2 separate regions of the Homo sapiens genome follow, and region 2 is linked to region 1. The links are contacts of gene promoters, found by promoter capture Hi-C in blood cells and fetal thymus (Javierre and others, 2016). All regions are on one chromosome and are shown on one strand. Each heading gives the region's core, a stretch centred on a gene start or on the middle of the fragment in contact. The rest is flanking DNA. Distances are from core to core; before and after follow the strand shown. Region 1 holds the start of TMEM215 (transmembrane protein 215). Region 2 has its middle 200 kb from the start of ACO1.

Region 1 (5,806 bases), core at 1,409-3,908:
CTTGGGTGACTTACTGGACGTAGGCTGTTAGGGAGAGAAAGGAGTAGAGAACAATTGCAAATATTCTCAGTTGGCAAATGGAAGGAATGATGAGGTTGGGTTTGGAACATAATCCCAAAGGACACAATCCCAAACCCCACAATCCCTAATGTTGAAATCCCCATAGATCAAAATCACTAAAGTCTAAATCCCTGAAGTCTAAAGTCCCTAGCAAGTGTGAGGTGTCTGCATACCATCCAGATTAGAGATATCAAGCAGACAGTTGGATATTATAGATTTGGGGCTGAGGGAAAATGACAAAGCTAAAGAGAGAGTTTTGGGAGTCATCAGCCTATTCAGGCTGTTCGAGGCTATTACAGAATGAGAAGAAAGAGAAGAGAAATCAAGAAAGGGGAGAAGCAAGAATAGAACCCACAGAACATCAGTATCTAAGGGGTTTGTTAAAATAAAAAATAAATAAAATAGGAGTTTATAAAGTAGCCTACAAATAAGTGACCAGGGAGATAGGAAGAAAACTAGGATAGAATGGTGTCAGTAAAAGAAACGGTTTTAAGAAGGGAAAACTTTTCAATAATTGTAACACACGTAGCGAGCTGCTTCCCCAGTATTTAAAAGGAGCAGTATGCTGCTCCTTTTAAACAAAACCCTTTTTTCAGACCATCAGTGGATCTGGTAAATAAATAAACAACAATTTCCCAGGTACCTTTGTATCCCAAAGCTCATCCATCTCTGGTCAATTACAGGCAGATGCCTATCTACTTGGGGGGGCTGCCAGGAAAATTATTATTGTCCTCATACAAGTGGCCAAAGAACTGGCACCTCACTTTTACCCTTTGCATTTTCTCCTTTCTTCCCTCCTAAATGATTCTATGCCTAAAGGTGCAGCAGCTGTCTAATGGTCATGAGTACAAAAGATACAAAATAGATGATGGAGAGGAAAATGAGAAGGATCTGCTTCCTGATCCACCCCTTTGAAAGTGAGAAAGTTGGGAGTTGACCTTGGCTCCTCCCTTCATCTCACTTCACTGTGCTCCAAGACACTTCACTCAACCCTTAAATACCCTCAGATCTGCTTCCTTCCAACTCCTCTACCAGCCCGACATTGTTAAGGCCACATCATGTCTTGCCCGGCTTACTGAACTTCTCAGCTTACTGAACAAGACTCCCGGCTTCCAGACTTACCAGCTCCAACCTATGCTCTCACCTGCCGCCCCTTTCAGTCAAACTGGAATGTTTTTGTATTGATCTTTGCTTAAAATACATCAAGCGTTCTTCATTGCCTAGTGGATAAAAAGTCCTTAGTCTCACAGCCTTTATGATTTGTTTGGCTCCTGTCATACATGATGAAGACACTAATTATGATGACAAATATATATACATATACATGTGTACGTGTGTGCATGTGTGTGTAATTTTTGTACACAGACTATGTACCAAGCATTGTGCTAGGAACTTTACGTTTATTTAATCCTCACAATGTTTCCTCATATATTTGGTATTAATCTCATTTTACAGATAGGACGACTGATTCTCAGAGAGGTTAAGTCACTTGCCCAGGAATATACAGCTAGTTTAACTGGGGAAGGCCTGGATGTGAAAATTCTTTCCAGTAAATCAGTGTCTTGACATGAAAGCATGTACCGCTCATCAACCTGTTCTCCACCGCCCTCCTCTATCCTAAATGGGCAGCCCTGTTGAAGAATCACAGCCAAAGCCAGTCTTGCCCCCCGGGGCCAGAGGAATCCATCTGCCCCTGCCTACCAGAGCGGGAGGAACGCAGGCTCTCAATGCCTGCTTCAGCAAGGGAGGAGAGAATCGCCCAGAGCTGAGCGGCGTCGTAGGGTGGTGGTCCTGACCGGTCAAGGCCCCTTCTCCTCGTGAACTGGGGGCCAGGGAGCCCTTCTCCCTGTCCCCCCGGCACCACAGCGCTGTAGAAGTGAAATCCCGGCTCCAAGGTCACCCTCTCCCGAGCCTGGAGCTGGAAAGCCACGGGGACTCCGGGGACTCCCCCAAGGCCCGGACTAGCCTGGCACCCACCCCTCACCACTAACCCACTCCGCCTGGGCGCTGGTTCTGTGCGCTCCCGCGGCGCAGTCGCTCCGCTGCAAGAGCGCTTTCGCGCGCCGCCACCGCCCAGAGCCGGGACCAAAGCAGTCCTCGGGCACCGGCTCCCCGAGGGACACACACCCCCCCGCGCCCCGAGTCGAGGGGTTGAGAGAAGGGCGGTCGGGGAGCCCCTGGGCCTGCCGTCAGTCACCCGGATTTGTAACTGGAGAAGGGTGCGGGTCCCGGAGGGACATCTCCAGCTGGCACCTAACTCCTCGGATCCCGGACTGGGAGCCCGAGCTCGGATATTGCAACGGCTGCCCCGTGGGCAAACCGACCCTGGTTTCCGACTCCGGCCACTGGCAGCCTCGCGCCCCAGACCCTTCCCGGGCACGGAAGCGGGTCAGGTCGCCCTGCTCAGCCTCCGGAACGGCGGCGGCACAAACCCCGGCCGCTCCCAGCAGCCCCGACGAGACCCCGGGCAGCGCCTGCCGCCGGGTGGCCTCCCTCTGGGGCTGACCCCCTCGCGCCCCCGCGCGTCTGTCTGCGTTTCTGAGCCTGCTCTGACAGTGATGTAACAAGGCCAGGCTCGCGCCGCGTCCCCTCTTTCCCAGACTCAGTGCTCCCTCCTCCTCCCGCGCCCCGCGCTCTGCGCGCTGAGCTGGCGCCGGGCTCCGCTTGCACAGCACCGGGACCGACGGGCACTGCTGGGAGAGCCGCTCTCCCAGGTTCCACCTCCCCGATGCAGAGTCCGTGGGGGAAACCAGGCTTTCCTCCCAGAACCAAGGGAGCGAGCCGAGGGGGCAGCTGCTGTGGGGGCTTCTGAGGAGACAGCCTGGCTTCTTTCCCTACTTCCTGGAGAGGGCAGGAAACCTCAGGTACCTCGTTGACCCCAGCCGGAGCGTGTTGATATGAGAGAGAGACGGAGGTTGCAATAGTGAGAGGAAGAGAGGGAGGGCACAAGAAAGGGAGGGAGGGAGAGGGGACGGAGAGAAAGAGTAGAAATAGAAACAGGGAGAGATTGCAAGAGAAACGCAGAGAGAGAGATAGAGAGATTGCAAGAGAGATACAGAGACAGAGATCAAGACTGAAAGTCAAGAAGCAAGTCGGAGACAAAGGGCAAGAGAAAGACAAGAGTTGATGGGTGGGAGCTTGACTTGGATTTTTTTTTAACGCACTGTGGTTTCATCTCTGACAGAATAGAGGAACGCTGCTCCCTGGTCAGCAAGCAGCCCCCAACCTGGATGGAGTGAAACATGCGGCCTGATGACATTAACCCGAGGACTGGGCTGGTGGTGGCCCTGGTCAGTGTCTTCCTCGTCTTTGGTTTCATGTTCACCGTCTCTGGGATGAAAGGGGAGACTTTGGGAAACATCCCCCTCCTGGCCATCGGGCCAGCCATCTGCCTACCAGGCATCGCAGCCATTGCCCTGGCCAGGAAAACCGAGGGATGCACCAAGTGGCCAGAGAACGAGCTGCTGTGGGTCCGCAAATTGCCCTGCTTCCGGAAACCCAAAGACAAGGAGGTGGTAGAGCTGCTGAGGACCCCTTCAGACCTAGAATCCGGCAAGGGGAGCTCAGATGAGCTGGCTAAGAAGGCGGGCCTCAGGGGGAAGCCTCCCCCACAAAGCCAGGGTGAGGTGTCCGTGGCCAGCTCCATCAACAGCCCCACACCCACGGAGGAAGGAGAATGCCAGAGCCTCGTCCAGAATGGGCATCAGGAGGAGACGTCCAGATACCTGGACGGCTACTGCCCCTCGGGCAGTTCCCTCACCTACAGTGCCTTGGACGTCAAGTGCTCAGCAAGGGACAGATCTGAGTGCCCTGAGCCTGAGGATAGCATCTTCTTTGTGCCCCAGGACAGTATCATCGTTTGCTCCTACAAGCAGAACAGCCCGTATGACAGATACTGTTGTTATATCAATCAGATACAAGGCAGGTGGGACCACGAGACCATCGTCTAATCTCTGCCTACAAAGGTGGCTGGATTGATAGAATATGACTAAGCCCAGCTCCCCGTGGAAGCAAATTGCTCTGCTTGGAGAGCCTTCACACTGTTAGAAATTGACCTGGTATGTGATGGGTGTGATAACCTCTGGTACCCGAGAGTCATGTAAATAGGCATGTTGGGGACACATTTTAGGGAAGGGCGATGAGGGTTAAGGACACTGGAAGAGGCAGTGGGTAGGAAAGGAAGCTACTCCAGTTGCTTCTTAACAATTTACACAATGTTAAATGTTTTGTAAAATAACCCAAAAAGTGCTATCCAGAACCAGCTGAGAGCAAGATAAATCTAGAGTGGGCTGCAGATGTGAGGCATCAAATGATGCATGAGCTGACCACAGGGAAACTGAGCTGCTTTATGTTTGAATAAGTTGAAAATAAAATTAATGATCCGTTATATAAAGTAATTTTTGCCTGGTTAAAAGCTTATCACACTTGGTATTTGCTGAAAGAAAAAAAAATCAAGATACAAGAGTTAAACCCTCCTTAGATGGGATGGTTTTTGGGAAAAGGGTAGTTAAAGAGAGTTGGATTATGTAACTGAGTCTTGTGGCATTATTGTCTGACAAGATCATGGTCTCTAATAAAGTAAAATAAGTGTGAGCAGCTATGTGAAAAGTTAACATTTTTAGATGGCTATGTTACTTCTTAAACTCTTCGTTTAAATCCATTTATTGCATCTTTATCTGAAATGGGTTTTTTCTAAACATTTACTATCATTCATGTATTATTTCCTTACCAGGTGCAACATTATTTGAAATGATACTTTCATAGATTGGAATTTGTTTTCATCAAGACAAAATGAATTTTACATATATATCCAAGTCTTTAACATTGGCAGACATGTACTGATAATTACCATTCCTACATACCTTTTAAAATCTGAAAACTATAAAGTCTACACATTAGCCTTGAACATTGCACATAATTTGTATGAAATGCAATGGTTAAACCTTTGGAAGTGTCATTATTTGTACATTTGTTCAACTCCTCTCACAGACTGTAAATGCCAGTGAAACAAGAACTCATCTACTAAATTTAACTGAAGCCTAGATTTTATTAAGCTCACCTGATCAGTGAACATTACATGATAAAAGTCTCTTTATTTCATACATTTTTGCTGCTGAGGAAAACAACAAATCACAATGATATCCTAAAATGTGCTTTCTATTTCACTTGCTCAACTGCAATAGATAAGAAGGCTATCAAGCAGAATGCCATTTGATCCCCGGTGAAGAAAAATATGAATTATATATAGGAATGGTGATAGAGTTCATCTTGAAGATCAGAAGTATTTTGTATCCTTCAAAGAATGATCATTTTAAGTGATCATATAGTCTTAGTCACTTTCTCCCAAAAGGGGAATTGAGGACAAAAATTTGGGCATATATGTTTTGTGTATTTCAATTCCAACTCTGCAATTCTTTCTTAAGTATAGCAATTGTTCTGTCTTAAGAATCATGGTATTTTTAAAAAATCATAATTTTCAAGTCAAGTTCAAGATCAAAAATATGTAATTATTTTAGTAGGGCTTAAATATCAGAAATGAGATGCATGATCTTGGGCAAATTTTATCTTCTTACACCTGAGTTTCCTACTCTGTGAAGGGAGGGGGAACTGATTTACACTTGATTATTTCTATCATTCATTTTCAGTGTAAATATTCTATGGTGTTATGTCAAAGGCATTTTATATATTGCCAGGAAATGAGTTACAGCAAAATGCATGCCAAAGTTATGAAATTTATGATAATTAT
Region 2 (5,806 bases), core at 960-3,459, 600 kb before region 1:
TGAAAACAGATGATCCATAACAGGAGAGTAACTAAAGACAGCAGGGACGAAGGGCTAATAAGGAGGCCAAGGACCTAAACAGAATATTGGAACCTCCTCTCCCGGGCGGTGTCCTGATGAGGTGAAGAGGTCCACTCAACTTCTTTTTTGATGTAGCTAGAGGAACGATATTGAAATGACATTTAGAACACCCCATTTTCATATCTGACCCATCACAATTACAGACTTCAGTGATGAAAAAATAAAATTTATCTTTCTATACTCAAAACCTGTGGAGCAGGAGACCTCACAGAAATAAAATGTCTAGTTGTTTGAAATATTCTAAATAGTTTTGGCAGTGGAGAAACATTTCCTTCTCAGTGGCACTCCAACATCTTCATGCTGGAGTCATCAGCGTAGTCATTAGCATCTTAACTTAGCTGCAGATACTTTGCATGTGAAGGAGATGGAGAGCATTTCTGAAGGTTTTTGCTGGATGGTCTGGCTGTGATAGAGTGTTGAATGATAGCCTGAGGCACTTCTTGTCTGATTTTGTGCATGGTCCTAATTAGAGAGGAACAATTCTATTGCCAGACAAATGTCTGAGGGATTAATAAGCCAGTTTTGGCTATTATCAGTGCAAATGAGCCACCTAAGTGACAACAGGACAGAAGTGTAGGCTACATTCTCCTCTGCCTTTGCCTGCAAACATGAATTTATATGCAGGCAAACTCTTTCTCAGTCTTCTTAAGGAAACCATCATGGAATGTGTGCGTTTCAAACTTCAGAGTTGATTTCTTTCCAGCCTAGGAGAGTATATAAAGTTACACTAAAAATGAACCTAGGAAAACAAAATCAATTCCACGATAGGAAGAGGAAAAGACCATTTCACTGTATTTATTGCTTTATTACCCTCCCTCCCCACAAAAAAAAAAAAAAGAAAGAAAGAAAGAAAAAAATCCACACCTCCTTGAGCCTCATAGGTATCTCTGCTCCAATAGAGAAGGCAGGAGAAAGGAATAAAAGTAAAATATTTCCAGTATAGCTTCCTTTATGGAATATAAGAACTTTTGGAAAATATAAGAATGACTTAACTAAGTAGCTAATTCTACAAACATGTATTGATGTCCAACTATTAATGAGGTTTTTGTATCCCTGGGTAAACAAAAATGAGGACTGCCTCTGCAGTTAAGCTTAGGTATGTATGGCCAGCCATTAATAAACTTGTAGAACCATACTTTGGGTGCATTCAGTCTCCTTTTCTTTCATACCGTTTATTTTCTTTTTTCCTCATTTTTTTTCATCTATTCAATTATTTACCTTCAAAGTATCTTCTCAGGAAAAGGTTTGACAGCATTTAATGACCTGTTTAAATGTCCAGTCTAAAACAACTAAAATAAGATGAGGGAATTCTCCCCATGGTAATAAAAAGTATACATTTAAGTAAAAAGCCTACAGTGTTATACACATTAGTAAGATTGTTGTCTTAAAACAAGAATCGCTGTTATCAACAATATTTTTAATAATTTTTTTTTAATTCTTTACTTGTGTTTTTCTAATCCGTTTCACAGGTAGCTGAAAGAGTAAATGTAATAAAATGCAATTCTAATCATGTCGCTTCTCCCATGAAAACCTTTCAATCGCATTTTAATGAGCTTAGGATAAAAATCAATCCCTTAAAGTAGCCTTTACTCAACAAGTATTTGCTGAACAGCTAACGTCTGTGCAGCACTGTCGAAGGTACTAAAGATATACCATGAGTAAACACCAGAATGTTGGAGCCAGAAATTCCATACGGCCGTTTTGGATTTTTGTTGTTGCTGCTGCTGTTACTAGTATTTGATAAAGTATTACAGAAAACATTAAAACAAGTGAAACTATGTACTAAGGAGCATAACAACAGTTTTCTACTGTTTAGTGGTTAAGCCTGTTTAGGGATAGAATCTGAAGTATCTAAAGGAGATAGAATAGCATAGGTCATGTAGTACCACTTCTCCCAGCTGGGTTTTTGGCAGAACCTGGAAAAAAAACACTCAAGTCTGAACTTGATGATGACAGCTGACACTACTGAGGTTCCTCTGTGTTTGTTCTTTTTCTAAAATAGTACACAGAATGAGGCTGGCTCATCAAATTTTCTTTTATTTTTAGAAGTAGACAGTGAAGATTCAAACTTCTATTTCTTCTTTCAAGTAAATTTAGATTTCCCGGTATCCTGACTATATATAGCTATTTTTATTTGAAAGCACTTTACACTTAGTTATTCTACAGAAATATGTAGAAGTGTAGTGAGAGCACCAAGAATTAAAATCATGACCATTGGTCTACAGCTCTTGATTCCATTTGGAGATGGCAGCTTGATGTTACAGTCAACTGAGGCCTTCCTAGTATAAGTTCCAAAAGTATGGTCCACCTGCCATCTAAACAAGTGCGTAACTTGATCTCTTCTCCTTCAAGGACATGTTTCAAAGCACAAATGTTAGATGATTGAGTATTTCTCGTTCATGTTTCTGGTGAATTATTTGCATATGTAAGGGCCCTCAGGATGGTGACCCCATTTCATAATTCCTCTGCCATTCCATAAAATCTAATTATGAACATCAATGATCCTGCTAAGGTTTTCTGGAGAGAGGGCACTCCACTTTTATGTGAAGTTGAGCAATTAAGTCTTCAGTATGAAGTGGGACTATATGGCTATTTTCTGCTAAATGGATACATTCCTACTAGAGATGTGATTTTATCAAAGTCATTTAATCACATGATATCTGTGATATAATGTGATATTATATCACATTATATCATTTTTTTACTATAAAATAGGGACGAAAATAGCTATCTTGTCAATTCCATAGAATTTTCAGAGGATAAAATGACATTAGGTTTATGAAAGTACTCTGTAACATTTCCAGGAGTGGGAAGGATATGAAGTTGAGCCCCTCAGACTTGATGGGGAAAAACTACTCTTCATCTGTTGCAAGGAGATTTTGCCTCTCTTTCATTTGGTTTTCCTGTGGGATGTGTATGAAATTTCTGAGTGGAGGGTTAAAATAAGGCTTGCATTTTCAACTCCCATCAATGTTTATCACCAGAAATATATTTTTAACACAGACTCCTCTTTTACCAGAAAATATGTGTATTTAAATCTCTCTAGCTAAAGATATTAGAAAAAATTTTATGTGACTTTAAAATTAGCTCAGTTTAATTTTAGCTGGAGTTATTATCACAACATTAAATCTATTTGGACATTTAAAAAAATACAGAATAAGTTAAGCAAGCTTTATTTTTTTCAGCAAAGCAGAAAAAAAATCAAATCAGAGAAACCAAAAGACTTTTAAAAACAAAACATAAAATTTCACATTCTACTTTCAGTAAAATACTCCAGATGAGAGAACCAAATTGCTTGTTCTCATTTAAATAGCTCAGCAATACCTGAAGTGAATACCACAAGCTTGTTTTTGTGCCACTTATCTCAGATTTGCCTTTTCATGAACATTTTTGAAAGTGGGAATAATGTCAGTGATAGCTTCATCTCATGTTCTGGAAAAATAGAGCAGAAAATTACCCACCTCTGGTGCATTGGTTGCAGAGCTGCCTAAATTATTCAAACAAACCACAGCACCCATGCTTGCACTGATTTTTGAATGATTCTCTTTGATATGAGATAGTTCCCTACAGTGGGCACTCAGCTCTAATCTTCACTGCCCTTTATTTCTCAGAATTTTCTACTCTACAGTTCTGTTTGTACGTCACAGAATTGTAAAAGCCTTGGTTGATTTCTTGACTACCAGAATAAATAGGTAAAAATATTATGTGTTAAAAAGTGAAAGTTCTACGAAGCAAAATAAAGCAGAGTAAGGGATAGAAGTAGTGTTAGGGAGCCAGGGAATACTGGGTGTAAGATGATGAGAGGAGGGGTTGTTTTAGATAGGGTGGTCAGAGAAGGTCACATTTATTTGGAGACATTTGAGCAGAGACTTGAAAGAATTCCTAAGCAAACTATGGAAATATTTGGGGGAAGAACATTCCAGGCAGATAATACTGCATGTGCAAATGTTCTGAGAGACAAGGGGTGACTAGCATGTTAAAGGAACCCCAATAAGGCCCATTTGGATCAAGTGAAAATGGGTAGCAGGGAGATGAGACTGGGGTGCAGGGAGCTGTGGGCATTATAGGCAATTGAATTTTACTGTGAGTGAAGTGGGGGGGTTCTGAGCAAAAGATAACAAGATGAGATATTTTAGAGCCAAGAATGACATAGCTGGAATTTTGTTTAACAAGTTGACTGGCTACTCTGTTGAGAAGAGACTGTAGGGAGAAAGACTAGACAGGAATCTATGACAATAATCAAGGCAAAAGAGGATGCTGGCATGGACCAGGTGGTAGGATGGATGGTTTAAGAATGGTTAGAGGCTGGATGCATTCTGAAAGTAGGGTTAATAACATTTATGAATGGAATCAATATGGGGTATGAAAGAAAGAGAGAAGTCAATGATGATCCTAAGAATTGTGTCATGATCAAGTGTAAGTGTCTTCAGATAGAAAAATTTCGGCATGTGTAAGAAACAGAATGGACAGAGAGACCTTCGACTAGTGTGTGAAGGGAAGAATAAAATATCAGAGAAAGAGAGAGAGAGAGAGCAGGGCAAGCTATTCTAAGTAGGAGATAGAAGACCAAAACAAGATTATTCTAGGTAGAAAGGAAAGCCATTTGAGAGTTTTAAACAGGGGACTAACATGAACTGATACATATTTTTTAAAGATTCCTCTGGCTTCTCTGTGGAGATTAGATATATATGAGCAATAGAAAGAGAAACATCCAGTAAGGAGGTGATTGCTTTAGTCTAAGCAAGAGAGAATGGTGATGTGGACAGGATACTAGCAGTGAGAGATAAAAATAAGTGTAAGGAACTGAGGTATGTTTTAGAGGTACATTCATCAGATGTTATTGATGAATTAAGGAGGACAAGGGAATTAAAGAAATTAAGATAATTAAGGAAATCAGTTCCCCTGATCAATTTACACTCTAGGTATCGTCAGCTACCATTTAATCAGAAAGACCATATTGCAGATATAATTGTCACAAATACCTCAGTTTTCTGTGTCTCCTGCTATACCACAAACTATGCCAATTGACAAAATGAATGTTAGAAGTGGGGTTTTATTGATGATATTAGTAGCTTATTATTATAAATACCAAAGTAGATATTAGAAATAGTTTCCCATGAATGTGTGGAAGTAAAAGAAGACTACTCGCATGAGAATAAGCAAAAGCTATTTATTCAGAGCTTGCTGTAGCTCGGGAGCTAGCCACTATCATTTGCATTTGGAAGATACTCAAAGGCAGGCAGAGGGACGGGAAAGGTAGGCAGTGGGAGGAAAAGGGAAGGCTTCAGGTACGCCCTCATTGGAGGTTGCAGGTGGACTAACTAGAAACCAGGCATCTTGTGTGATTAGTTTATTTGAACAATTATGCTTTATGATAGTCTGCTTAAAATAGTTTCCAAAATACTTTTTGGTAACTTACAACTTTAGACTTATGCTAAATTAAGTAATAGATAGTTATTAAATATCTAGATGATCTTTAAATAAGATTAAATACTGAGACATTGATTACTAAACATAAACTTAAGTTTGGGCCAGGCGCGGTGGCTCACGCCTGTAATCCCAGCACTCTGGGAGGCCGAGGCAGGCGGATCACGAGGTCAGGAGATCGAGACCACGGTGGAACCTCGTCTGTACGAAAAATATGAAAAATTAGCCGGGCGCGGTGGCGGGCGCCTGTAGTCCCAGCTACTCGGGAGGCTGAGGCAGGAGAATGGCGTGAACCCAG

What was found. Contacts are between HindIII fragments. The CHiCAGO score rates a contact against its expected background, and 5 or more counts as called.
Region 2: a fragment that was not itself captured here is called in contact with the fragment with the promoter of TMEM215 in region 1 in 1 of 17 cell types (non-activated CD4 T cells); the score reaches 5.2 in non-activated CD4 T cells.

Annotation. Positions count from the first base shown.
Region 1 is chr9:32,780,882-32,786,687 of GRCh38, forward strand. TMEM215 (transmembrane protein 215) reads left to right here and starts at 2,659. Exons shown (of 2, transcript NM_212558.3): 1 at 2,659-2,924; 2 at 3,245-5,806. The coding sequence starts at 3,303. The coding sequence ends at 4,010. It overlaps LOC105376017 (a long non-coding RNA gene), which reads right to left and starts at 2,025. Exons shown (of 7, transcript XR_929559.2): 1 at 1,762-2,025. The HindIII fragment of the contact is 4,873 bases long and covers 1-4,473 here.
Region 2 is chr9:32,178,776-32,184,581 of GRCh38, forward strand. No RefSeq gene overlaps it. Among named protein-coding and RNA genes, the nearest start is that of ACO1, 200 kb to the right of the region's middle. The HindIII fragment of the contact is 2,079 bases long and covers 1,171-3,249 here.